Regions from separate parts of the Homo sapiens genome. Here region 2 is linked to region 1. The links are contacts of gene promoters, found by promoter capture Hi-C in human tissues and cell types (Jung and others, 2019). All regions are on one chromosome and are shown on one strand. The core of a region is centred on a gene start or on the middle of the fragment in contact, and the rest is flanking DNA. Distances in the headings are between cores, read along the strand shown.

Region 1 (5,644 bases), core at 1,686-4,185:
ACCTCTGCCTCCCGGGATCAAGTGATTCTCCTGCCTTCAGCCTCCCAAGTAGCTGGGATTACAGGCATATGCCACCATGTCCAGTGAATTTTTATATTTTCAGTAGAGACAGGGTTTTGCCATGTTGGCCAAGCTAGTCTCGAACTCCTGACCTGCCTCGGCCTCCCAAAGTGCTGGGATTACAGCCAAGGCTGAGGACTTTCAACAGCTGCAGCGTGCTGCCAGATTTCAGGGGCCTCCTTACTGTTAGGTATAAGACTTCATGCCTCAGCTTGCTCTTCCTGAGGAGTGGAAGCAGAGAGCTGCTGGGGCAAATTCCCTCCTGCTTAGCTACCCTCCTTCCCAGTGATCGCAAAGATAGTTATTTTCACAACAGGTCAGGTCAGGCCAGGCACAGTTGCTCACGCCTGTAATCCCAGTACTGTGGGACGCCAAGGCAGGCGGATCAGTTGAGTCCAGGAGTTTGAGACCAGCCTGGGCAACATGGTAAAACCCTATCATGGTGGCATGTGCCTGTAGTCCCAGCTACTTGAGGGGCTGAGGTGGGAGGATGGCTTGAGGCTACAGTGAGCGCTGATTGTGTCACTGCATTCCAGCCTGGGCAATAGAGTGAGACCTTGTCTCAAGAAAAAAAAAAAAAAGGTTAGTGTCCCAGTAAAAGCTCCTGCTCTAGGTGGGAACAGTAGCCTGAGGGCTTAGAGGAATGGTTTAAGGGAAAACAGGGCCAGATATTTGGGGCCTGAACCACAAGGATAGCATGGCCGTAGGACAGACACTGGCCTTGTACAGTCAGAAGAAGCACAAGGACAGGTGGTATGGAGGGAGGGAGGATGAGGATACTGGGTCCTGTCCCAGGGTAATGTCTTTGTTCTTTCTCTTGACCTCCCCATAGGCTTGCAGCCCTGAGTGATCGAGAGACTCGGCTGCAGGAGGTGCGCTCAGCCTTCTTGGCTGCGTACAGCAGCACAGTGGGGCTTCGGGCAGTAGCCCCCAGTCCTTCCGGTGCCATCGGGGGCCTGCTGGAGCAATTTGCCCGTGGTGTTGGACTCCGGAGCATCAGCAGCAATGCCTTGTGAAGAAGCCAGCCCATGACATTTTCCTGCTCCTCTCTCAGCTGAGCCCTTAGCAGAGAATCAAAGCCATGCCTGGCCGAAGGGGTACTTCCAGGTCAGGGGAAATTTCAGTCCCCCATCTCCATCATGAACATGGCAGCCCCAAAGCTGAGCAAGGCCAAAGACAGGGTTTTCCAACCCCCAGCCTCTTGACTGGTGACCACCACCCCTTCTTGTCACTGTCTCCCACCCACCCCATCTTTGCTGGGATTCCCATCAACTCTCAGAACTGTGTGGGGTTTCCCTGGGGCCTTGTGGAAGCCATGACTTCACAAAGACCCTACCTGTCAGTTCTTGTTTCTGGGGAGGAGGGATCACCTGCACTGAGAATGAGGCAGTTTGACACAGATCACAAAATAAAATCAAAGTCTTTTTGAATAGCCACTCTTGTGTCATCATTTGGTTATTGTCTTTGTGGAGCTACTAGGAAGGTTCTCATTGTCCTTCCTTGTGCTGGACAAGGGGTTTTTATGTGGAGGGCAGGTGAAACAGGAAGAGAACTGGCGACAGGTATACCTCTCCACTCATGAGCCATGGTAGTCCCTGCAGTGGGGACAACACTCAAGACTGTTGAGAGTAGTGGTTCTCGGGCCTAAGCAGGTCCTAGTCACCTAGAGAGCCTGATGAGCTGTGCACATTCCCAGGGCTGCCTGAGCTTTAGCCTTAGGGTTGCTAAGGAAGTTGCCTGGGAATTAGGAGCTGGAGGATCTTCATTTTTTTCAGATTTTTTGAGATGGAGTCTCACTGTTACCCAAGCTGGAGTGCAATGGCACAATCTTGGCTCACTGCAACCCCTGCCTCCTGGGTTCAAGCGATCCTCCTGCCTCAGTCTCCTGAGTAGCTACGTGAACGTGCCACCATCCCCAGCTAATTTTTGTATTTAGTAGAGATGGGGTTTCACCATGTTGGCCAGGCCAGTCTCAAACTCCTGAGCTCAAGTGATCTGCCTGCCTTGGCCTCCTAAAGTGCTGGGATTACAGGCATGAGCCACCGTACCTGACCAGGATCTTCATCTTTAACAAGTTCTGTAGGCAGCAGGGTCCTGGTACGGGTGACCTGCATCCCCTACCTTGAGCCCTGCCTATGGAGGAAGGACTGGCTTCTGAAGCTTTGGAGATAGCAATTGGTGTGCATGTGTGGTGGGTGAGAGCCTGGCTGACCACCACCCTCTTCTACAGTGTAACCTACAGTAGATTGCGTCATGAGAGTGTGTCCGCATCTGTAACGCCATGAAAGTCGTGAGGGTTAAAGGCATGGGCAGACAGCTTTGCACGGTGCTCAACAGCCACCATTTACTGTCATCATTGTGAATACCCAGAGGACAAATCATAAATACCAGTGAATGTTTACTGAGCACTTGCTGTGTGCTAAGTGTTTTCCTTGGGTTATCTCAGTAAAATTTTACAGCACCTAAAGTAGCTGCTGTTAAAGGCCTTTCTGACGGCCTTTCACGGTTGAGCCACAGAGATGTTGAGTAACTTGTCCAAGGTCACACAGCTACTAAGAGATGTACTTTTCCTATTCAGAGACCTAGGCAGGCTGGGAGTGGGAAAAGACAGAAACACTAAGGGAGTGGCTCAGTAAGAGGCAACAATTCCAGTGCCCACCAGGTGCCCCAAATGTTTCAGCATCATGGACAACTCTAGGGGGCTTGGGTTTCCACCCCAGAGACTTGCGCAGGGCAGACTCTACCAAGGTGTGGGTTGGAGTTGGGAGTCGGGGTGAGGTTCCCCGCTGGCTCCAGGCTGCTCCAATGGGGCGGGGGCCGCCCGCAGGGCCGGGCGGGGCTGTGCTGCCATCTGGAGCCGCTGCCGCCGGCGGCCACTGTCAGGGCGCGAGCGGCTGGAGCGCACGCAGGGCTGGAGCGAGTGCAGCCGCCGCCGCCGCCGACACCGCGGCACATGGGCCGGCCCCGCCGCTGCCGTCGCCCCTAGCCCCAGCAGCCCTGGTCTCGCAGCCTCCTGCGGCTCTGGTCGCCCGACCAGCCATGTCTCTCGGCGGAGCCTCCGAGCGCAGCGTCCCGGCCACCAAGATTGAAATTACCGTGTCCTGCCGGTGAGCGGGCCGCGCTGGGGAGGGCTTAGGCACTGGCACTGCCCCAGCCCCAGCCAGCCGCGGGGCTCAGCCTGGGCAGGGGCTAGACCCCCGGGGAGAGGCGAAATTGGCTGGAAAATCACAGCTGATGACAGGGCGAGTAGCTGGTGGGATCGAGAAGCGGGGGGTCTTGGGCAGCCCCACCCCGAAAAAAGGGCTCAGCCTGCGGGTTCAGGGGGTGGGTCGCAGATATCCGGTAGGAGCTCGGCCCCAGGAGGACAAAGTTCTGGGGCGAGCCCTCTTTCCTGGGCCCTTGGAGACAGTGTGGGTGCGTTCGCGTCCAGTCCGCAGAGCCATGGTTCCTGGACAGCGATTTCCGGTGCTGTCCAGAGTGCTGACAGAGCGGACCCCGGCTGGGGGTAGCCATGGGGGACAGAGGTTCGATGCGGGCCCCATGCCTCTCCTCAGTGCCCGGCTCAGAGCCGACTCGAGGCGGGCGGACTCCAGGATGATCCACTCTGTCTGTCTGTTGCTTTTCTCTAGGAACCTGCTAGACCTTGATACCTTCTCCAAGTCCGACCCCAGTAGGCGGCTCCAGGACCGGGAGGGGGAACTTGGGGTCTGGGCGCGACTCAGGGGCGGGTGGAGTCGGGGCCAGGGGTGGGAGCCGACCTGACGTCCTTCCCTCCCCGCCCCCACCTGCAGTGGTGGTGCTTTACACGCAGAGCCGGGCCAGCCAGGAGTGGCGGGAGGTGAGTCCCAGAGCCCCCTCCCGGCCCAGGGCGTCGCCCGGGAATTCCCCTGCCCGTCTGCACGTCCCACGCTGACCCTCCACCCCCCTACCCAGTTCGGACGGACCGAGGTGATTGATAACACGCTGAACCCAGACTTCGTGCGCAAATTCGTCCTCGACTATTTCTTTGAGGAAAAGCAAAATCTGCGCTTCGATGTGTGAGGCCCCGCCTGGAATTCTGGCTTGGCCCGCCCCCGACCTGGATCCGCCCGGAATTCTGGCTGGCCCCACCCCCGCCTCGCCTCCGGCCTGGTTCTTCTCGCAGGCCTCCCTCCCATTCTGAATGGCCCCCTCTAGCCTGAGCCCTGCCCTTTTATGAGATGCGGTCCAGTTCCGTCCCCCGCTCTGGCCCCGCCCACAACTCTGCTCCTATCGCAGCTCCACCTCAGGCCCGACCCCTTCCACACAACCCTGCCCCCAGCAGCCCCTGACTTGGCCTCGGCCCAGGCTTGACCGTCTGACTACTCAGCCCACCCTGACTCCTCCCCAAAAGGAGACCAAAGCTGAATTCGGGTCCACGGCCGCCCATCCCTCCACCCAAAATTTTCACCAAGACTCGGTGCCCGACCCCTTTCCACCCTCTCCCCCACCCAGCCCCACCCCACACCGGTTCCACTCTTTTCCCAGGTACAACGTGGACTCCAAAACCAACATCTCCAAACCGGTGAGCAAACGTTTCCTCGAGGGTTGGCGGAGCGCACAGGAGGCACTTAGATGTGTTCAACGACTCTCAGAACTCCTCCCAACCCTCGACCCAGACCCCATCTTCTTCAGGCCCCCAACCCACCCTCCTGGTCCCTCTCCTCCTGCCTGAGTGTCCTGCCTGTGCCCCCTACTCACTGTTCCTCTTCCTTCTTGGCTGCCACTGCTGGGACCTGCAGAAGGTGAGGCTGAATGGGGCTGGGCAGAGGTTGGGGGTGGGGGTGGTATTGTGGAGAACAGGCTTGGACTGATGACCCACTACAAGGCAGAGATTGCTCGCAGACCCCTTCTTTCACACCCCCTCCATTAAAGCCCATGTAGGGCCGTGGCTCTTGCACCACTCATTCGCCTGGGAACTGCCCTGGTCCTGTGCAGGAGCATCACTGGGGCTAGGCTGGGACTCAGCACTCAAGAGCTTCTGGTCTTGCTGACTCCTTGTCCTGCATAGGATTTCCTGGGACAAGCGTTCCTGGCCCTGGGAGAGGTGATTGGAGGCCAGGGCAGCCGAGTAGAGCGAACCCTCACGTAAGCTGAATAGGAAGGGGTGTGGGAGTGGGGTGGGGGCTTCCAAATTCTCCCTCCCAAGGATGCCGCTGACTGATAGAAGTGGAGGCTGGGGTTGCCCCTGGTCAGGAGCCTGCCCCGGCTCCCATCACCCTCGTAGAAAAGTCCAATTTCCAGTGCTCTGCCCGAGTCAGTATCAGGCCTGATATGTCTTTTCTTTTCTTTTTTTTTTTTCTCTCTCTCTCTCTGTTTCTCTCTCTCTCTCCTCACTCTTTTTCTAAGTCTGATTCAGCCTTTAAGGTCCACTTCCAAGCCCCTCTCCACAGGGAAGCTCCCCCGGACTAAGTCAAATCCTCAGGAATTACCATTACATCCACTCACTAAATATGCATTAGCATGTTTTATATCCCACACCCTGTTCTAGGCACCAGGGCTTCATTCATTCCACAAACACTATGTATACATACCCTATGTCAGCCACTGTTAAAGGGGATTAGCT
Region 2 (5,644 bases), core at 1,296-3,795, 590 kb after region 1:
AGGGCAGAACACCTGGCAGCAGGACTTGATAGGGGCTGGGGGTCCTCCCCGGTGCCTTTTGTCCCAGGCTCTGAGAGCTCATGGCGAGTCTTTTCATGAGGAGGGAGGAAGCTGAACCAGCAAGGGCCCCAGGGCACTCAGCAGGGAGGGGGTTAGAGGTAGCTCCTAAATGAAGCTCTGTCTTCCAGCCAGACAGTCCGACATCCCCCGTGTTTAGAGGGGACTCCTGAGGCCCAGAGAGGTTAAACGGACGGGCAGCAGTCACGGACAATAAACCTGTCAGCAAACGCACACGGAGAGTAGAGAGAGCTTACCTGCAGTTCCTGGCGGAGGTGGTGCCTGGTGGCTGTCAGGTCCTTATATAGGATGACTGGCGTTTGTTCTAAACCAGCAACCCCATCCCAGAGGTGGCCTAGCTTCCGTGGGGCTGATGTACATTCCTTGGGAACTAAAAATGTTCTTGTCCTCTGGGTAGAAGTCAACAGTGGAGGTCAGATGCCCTGCGGAATTGCTGGGTTGGCGAGGGAAGAAGCATGTGCTCCAGCTGTCCCTGGAACACGGTGGCGGGGTGCCCCAAGTGGGCATGGCCCTGGTGGAGGAGGGAGGGAGGAGAGTGGCTCTGGGGTCTGGGTGCAGCTTTGTTGCTGTGTGACCTTAGCTTACTCGCCCTTTCTCCCTGGGTAAAATGAGGCTGTCATCACTAGGAGAGCTCTGAGACCTCCCCAGTCCAGCGCCCCGTTGTTTCCCATGTGCTGTTGCTGCTCTGGCCTCTGTGAGCCCCGGGAGTCCGCAGGGAGCCAGGCTGGTGATTCTACACCTTCCCGAGGAGGAGTCCCACCTCCCGGTTGAGCAGACTGCTCCTGATCATCCTCTCCAGAGAGTGGGTGTGGGGATAACTTCAGCCAGTGGCTATGCTTCAGTCATTTCTGCCAGGTGTGACATGACTGCCTGGCCTGGCGTTTTTTCACATAGCAGCTTGCCTTGCCTCCCTCCAGCAGCTTTGGTCCCTATTTTAGCGGATGCCTCTTCTGAGAGGGAAGTGCATTGGACCTGGAGGTGGAAGATCTACGCTTAGCACGGGCCTGGCTCCTCTCTCATTGACTGGCCTTACGCCGACCACAAATAATTCCCCTTACCCAGAGTCTTTGAGGGTGAAATGAGGCGATGGGGGGAAAGTGGCTTCTAACCTGTGAAACACCCTGCAGATGACAATGGTTTCATACCAGGCCCATAGGACTTCCCAGCATAGGCCAAGGCCACTGCCTCATTTCCCTCGGCCCCAGGAATTTCTTCCTTTCTGGAGTGCTTCATCCAACTGGGTGCCCAGGCAGGAACCCCTAAGGGCCAATGAGTTGTCTGCAGAGAAGTTCTAGCAGTTCAGGAGAGGAGCTCACCTTAGGCTGGGGCTTGCGGCAGGGATGTTAGCAAAGGCTCCAGGAAAGAGGCCTGTGGTGAACTCGGGGCAGGGCTTTGGAGGGAGGGCTTTGCGGCAAGCAGAGGGGAGGTGAAGGCGTGGGTAGAGTACATCAGGGCAGCATGGAGAAGGCTGGGTGGCTTGGGGGAGGGTGGCGATGGGGTCATAACAAAAACATAAGAAGGTGGTTTGGGGCCAGGTGATGGATGCCTTGGGAACTGCTAGCCCAAGAAGTTTGGGCTTTTTTTGCAGGAGGGCAGCCACTGAGGATTCTTGAGGAGAGAGAGACCATAGAATGAATGAAAGAGTTGGAAAGACTTTAAAGCTCTGGGAGGCTGAATCCTTTATTTCGCTGGAAGAAAAACTGAATGCCAAGAGGGCCTCACTTTCCCCAAAGCTATACAGCCATCAGGGGCAATGCTGGGATTCCCCCATGGATCTCTTGACTCCTAATACAGTGCTCTTTCTGATATGCCATCTGGCTCCATAATGAACATTGTGTTCCAGGAAAATCAGTCTGCGCTGAACAGGATGGAATTGGGGCAGGACGTCCAGTGAGGAGGACATTGAGGCAGTAGAGCAGTTGATTGCCGAATGACCACCTACCCTGACTTAAAAGATCAACCTCAGGGAGGATTGGAGCTTTCTAGAGTCTCTTGGGACAGCAGAAGCACAGGCCGGGTTGGACTGAATCTTTAAGTGGACATGAGGGACAAAGTACCTCCTGTTGGTAAACATCTCACCACCAACCCACTGTGGTGGCTAAAATCCCACCTTTAGTCCCAGCAACATATGAGCATGTCACCAGGAGGTCTTCACAGGCCTGTCTGCCACCTGAGTGTAGACATCTTTTGGCCCTGGAGCCCAGAGAGGCTGAATGTGGAGAGGGTGGAGAGAGGTCTGTAGTCCTCAGAGAAGACTTGCAGCTTTTTCAGAGCCACCAACCCATAAAAAAAAAAATCCCCAAACAGAAAAATCCTAACTGTGGTGACCAGGTACCTCCTGAGACATGAAGCCTCCACTTACCTGGACCCTGGAGGCCTCTCCGGGCACAGCTGCCAATGTTGATCTTAGATAAGACCACCAGCAAGTAAACATCCACTGTGCAAAGCTGTGTTATCTTTGGGGAACTGAAATGTCCCCTGGGAGTTGGAAACTCCCCTAGCCACATACCACAGAGTTGAGGAAGGAAGAGCTGATGGACGGAAGAACCATGGCGGGAGGAGTCATCCGGAAGCTACCTCGCTGCCCTGTCAGTTACGGAACAGAGGAGAGATGCCGGCTGGAGGACACAGCAAATTTGAACCAAGAGGAGCTTGGAGGAAGCCCGAGCGACCTGGAGGGGACTGGCTGACCTTCCTCATTCTTTTCAAGTGTGAATAATAACCAAGCCCAGTTTGGCAACTCCTTGAGGGTGAGGACGAAGCCCCATTCTCCTTTTTGGAACTTGGTGGGGCTCAGGAAGCAGGTTCTCTCCAGTCGGTGGCTTTCCTTTCTGTTGCGGGTCTCTTGAGGGCCTGCCTTCATGAAGGCACATGAGTGACTCATCATTTGTGAATTAATTGCTATATGTGAAGGGCATCTGAGAACAAATTATCTTCATAGACTTTTCATTATAATTTTATTTGTACTGATAATTAGTTGGTTTAGCAAGCTCTTTTTTCATAGATTTGGCTAAACTTCAGTCTGAAAGAGGCAAATTCTGGGGTTCTAGAAAGAGATTTTATTCTTTGATATAGGGCTATTTGGTGGGGTTGCTTTTTGTCCTAGTTGTAGCTTTTATAATTTCGAGATTCACATTTTGCAATAGAAATATACAGGCATACCTTGGAGGCATTACAGCTTTGGTCCCAGACCACAATGAAGCAAGTCACACGAATTTTGTTGGTTTCCCAGTAAATATAAAACGTATGCTGATACCATACTATAGTCTAAGTGTGCAACAGCATATGTCTAAATGAATATACATATATATTTTTTTGAGACAGGTTCTTGCTCTGTCACCCAGGCTGGAGTGCAGTGGCACTATCATGGCTCACTGCAGCCTCCACCTCCCTGGACTAAGATGATCCTCCCACCTCAGGCTCCCAAGTAGCTGGGACTACAGGTCACACCACCACACCCAGTTAATTTTTGTATTTTTTGTAGAGACAGAGTCTTGACATGTTGCCTAGGCTGGTCTTGAACTCCTGGCTTAAGTGATCTGCCTGACTTTGCCTCCCAAAGTGCTGGGATTACAGATGTGTAGTCTTTGAAATCCAGTGTGTGTTCTTACAGTGCATTTCAATTTGGACTAGCCATGTTTCAAATGCTCAGCAGCCACATGCGGCTCATTCTAGATAGGCGGCCATCGCTCTTAAATCCTCCCTGACCTTAGCCATGCTCTCTCATCCCTCCTCTTCGCCAAGCTCTGCCTCTCTCACTGGGGCTTCCCTAGCCTCCGGCCATCTTGGGGCCAAAGCTCTAACACTTTGCCTCTCTCGTGTCTTCTGTTCCCCTCCAGTGGCTTCTGCTTTCTGCCTTAAAATACACCCAGGTTCCTAATCCTGAAAACGTCTGTTGTGCACCGATCCCACCCTCCCCTCGTGTTACCATCTCCATTTCCTTCCCCTTTCCTTGTGTCCTCTTCTTTGCTGTGTCCTGGCCCCTCAAAACTTGACCTTGCCTCTCATCCCCACTGCTGTACTGAAACTGTTGTCTCAGCGTTGCTGATCATCCAGCCTTTTAGTCTATGGACCGCTAAGAGCCATAGGACGACCTCAGGGTGGGACGTGGCTTGGAGGGCCATCTCGTCTCAATTTCCAGATACAGACCTGTGTTGGGTTGTGTTGGATTCATGAGGAAAGCTTCATAAGTTTTATGCACGTTTATAAGACTCCATCCTTGGATTCTGATCCAGTAGCTCTGGCGTGGGGGCTTTAGAATCTGTTTCAAGTATCTCAGGTAATTTTGATTATAAATTACCAAGTATCCCAGGTAAATTTTGATTATAAATGCTTGCTTCCAGCAGAAAATATAAACATATGGAAGATGAAATCTTTCTCTCTGAATAACCCAATTCAGTTTCCACTCGTGAATATCTTATATAACCGTAGTACATTTATCAAAATTAAAACACCAGTGTTAGCACATTACTGTTAATCTCCAGACTATTTGTAAGTCACCAATTTTTCCATTGTCCCATCTGTTCTTCCTTTTCTTTCTCTTGTCATAACCACTTTTAGAGGGTTTTGAATGGTATCATTTTGTCTTCACCGTCGGCTTATTAGCTATACTGTACTGTTCTATTCTTTGAGTGGTTGCTCTAGGATTTACAAATATGACTTCAACATATTGCAGAATACCTTCAACAACTACGATATCCTTTCACAGATAGTGTAAGAACTGCACCACAGAATGCTTTCATTTCCCCACTTCTATTCTTTGTGATATTATTGTCACACATTTTATTTTTACTTAAGGTATGAGCCCCACAATGCATGTTAAATAGCCAAAGTTTTTAGACAGATTAAAGAAATTAAGAAAAAGTCTTATGAACTCAGGTATTTACTATCGTGTTGCTCCTTATTCCTTAGTGCAGATCCATTTTTCTTTTCTTTTTTATTTGAGACAGGGTCTCACTGTGTCACCTGTGGTTGAATGCAATGGCGTGATCTCAACTCACTGCAGCCTCCACCTTCTGGGCTCAACTGATCCTCCCACCTCAGCCTGTAAAGGGATATTTGCAAAGGGATATCGGAGTTGTTGAAGGTATTTGCAATATGTTGAAGTCATATTTGTTTTTTTTTTTTTTTTTTTTTTTTTTTTGAGATGGAGTCTTGCTCTGTTGTCCAGGTTAGAGTGCAGTGGCGTGATCTTGGCTCACTGCAACCCATACCTCCTGGGTTCAAGCAATTCTCCTGCCTCAGCCTCCTGAATAGCTGGGACTACAGGCATGCGCCACCACACCCAGCTAATTTTTGTATTTTTGCTAGAGATGGGGTTTTGCCATGTTGGCCAGGCTGGTCTTGAACTCCTGACCTCAAGTGATCCATCTGCCTTGGCCTCCCAAAGTGCTGGGATCACAGGCATGAGCCACCGCGCTGGGCCTGAAGTCGTATTTGTAAATCCTAATTTTTGTATTTTTTTTTGTAGAGACAAGGTCTCACCATGTCGGTCAGGCTGGCCTCACACTCCTGGGCTTAAGCAATCCTGCTGCCTCAGCATCCCAAAGTGCTGGGATTACAGGTG

Evidence for each region. Contacts are between HindIII fragments. The study calls those that stand out against the background at their distance.
Region 2: a contact is called between the fragment with the promoter of GHRL here and the fragment with the promoter of CPNE9 in region 1, in 1 of the 25 tissues and cell types used here (liver).

Annotation. Positions count from the first base shown.
Region 1 is chr3:9,700,898-9,706,541 of GRCh38, forward strand. CPNE9 (copine family member 9) reads left to right here and starts at 2,936. Exons shown (of 21, transcript NM_153635.3): 1 at 2,936-3,167; 2 at 3,690-3,730; 3 at 3,852-3,898; 4 at 3,994-4,097; 5 at 4,567-4,603; 6 at 4,821-4,823; 7 at 5,090-5,166. The coding sequence starts at 3,100. It overlaps MTMR14 (myotubularin related protein 14), which reads left to right. Exons shown (of 19, transcript NM_001077525.3): 19 at 893-1,496. The coding sequence ends at 1,076. RefSeq lists an enhancer at 2,575-3,485. The HindIII fragment of the contact is 25,532 bases long and covers 1-5,644 here.
Region 2 is chr3:10,290,402-10,296,045 of GRCh38, forward strand. GHRL (ghrelin and obestatin prepropeptide) reads right to left here and starts at 2,546. Exons shown (of 6, transcript NM_016362.5): 1 at 2,441-2,546; 2 at 315-1,050. It overlaps GHRLOS (ghrelin opposite strand/antisense RNA), which reads left to right. Exons shown (of 6, transcript NR_073568.1): 6 at 1,667-3,048. RefSeq lists enhancers at 190-792, 2,304-2,373, 2,384-2,633, 2,444-2,738. The HindIII fragment of the contact is 19,242 bases long and covers 1-5,644 here.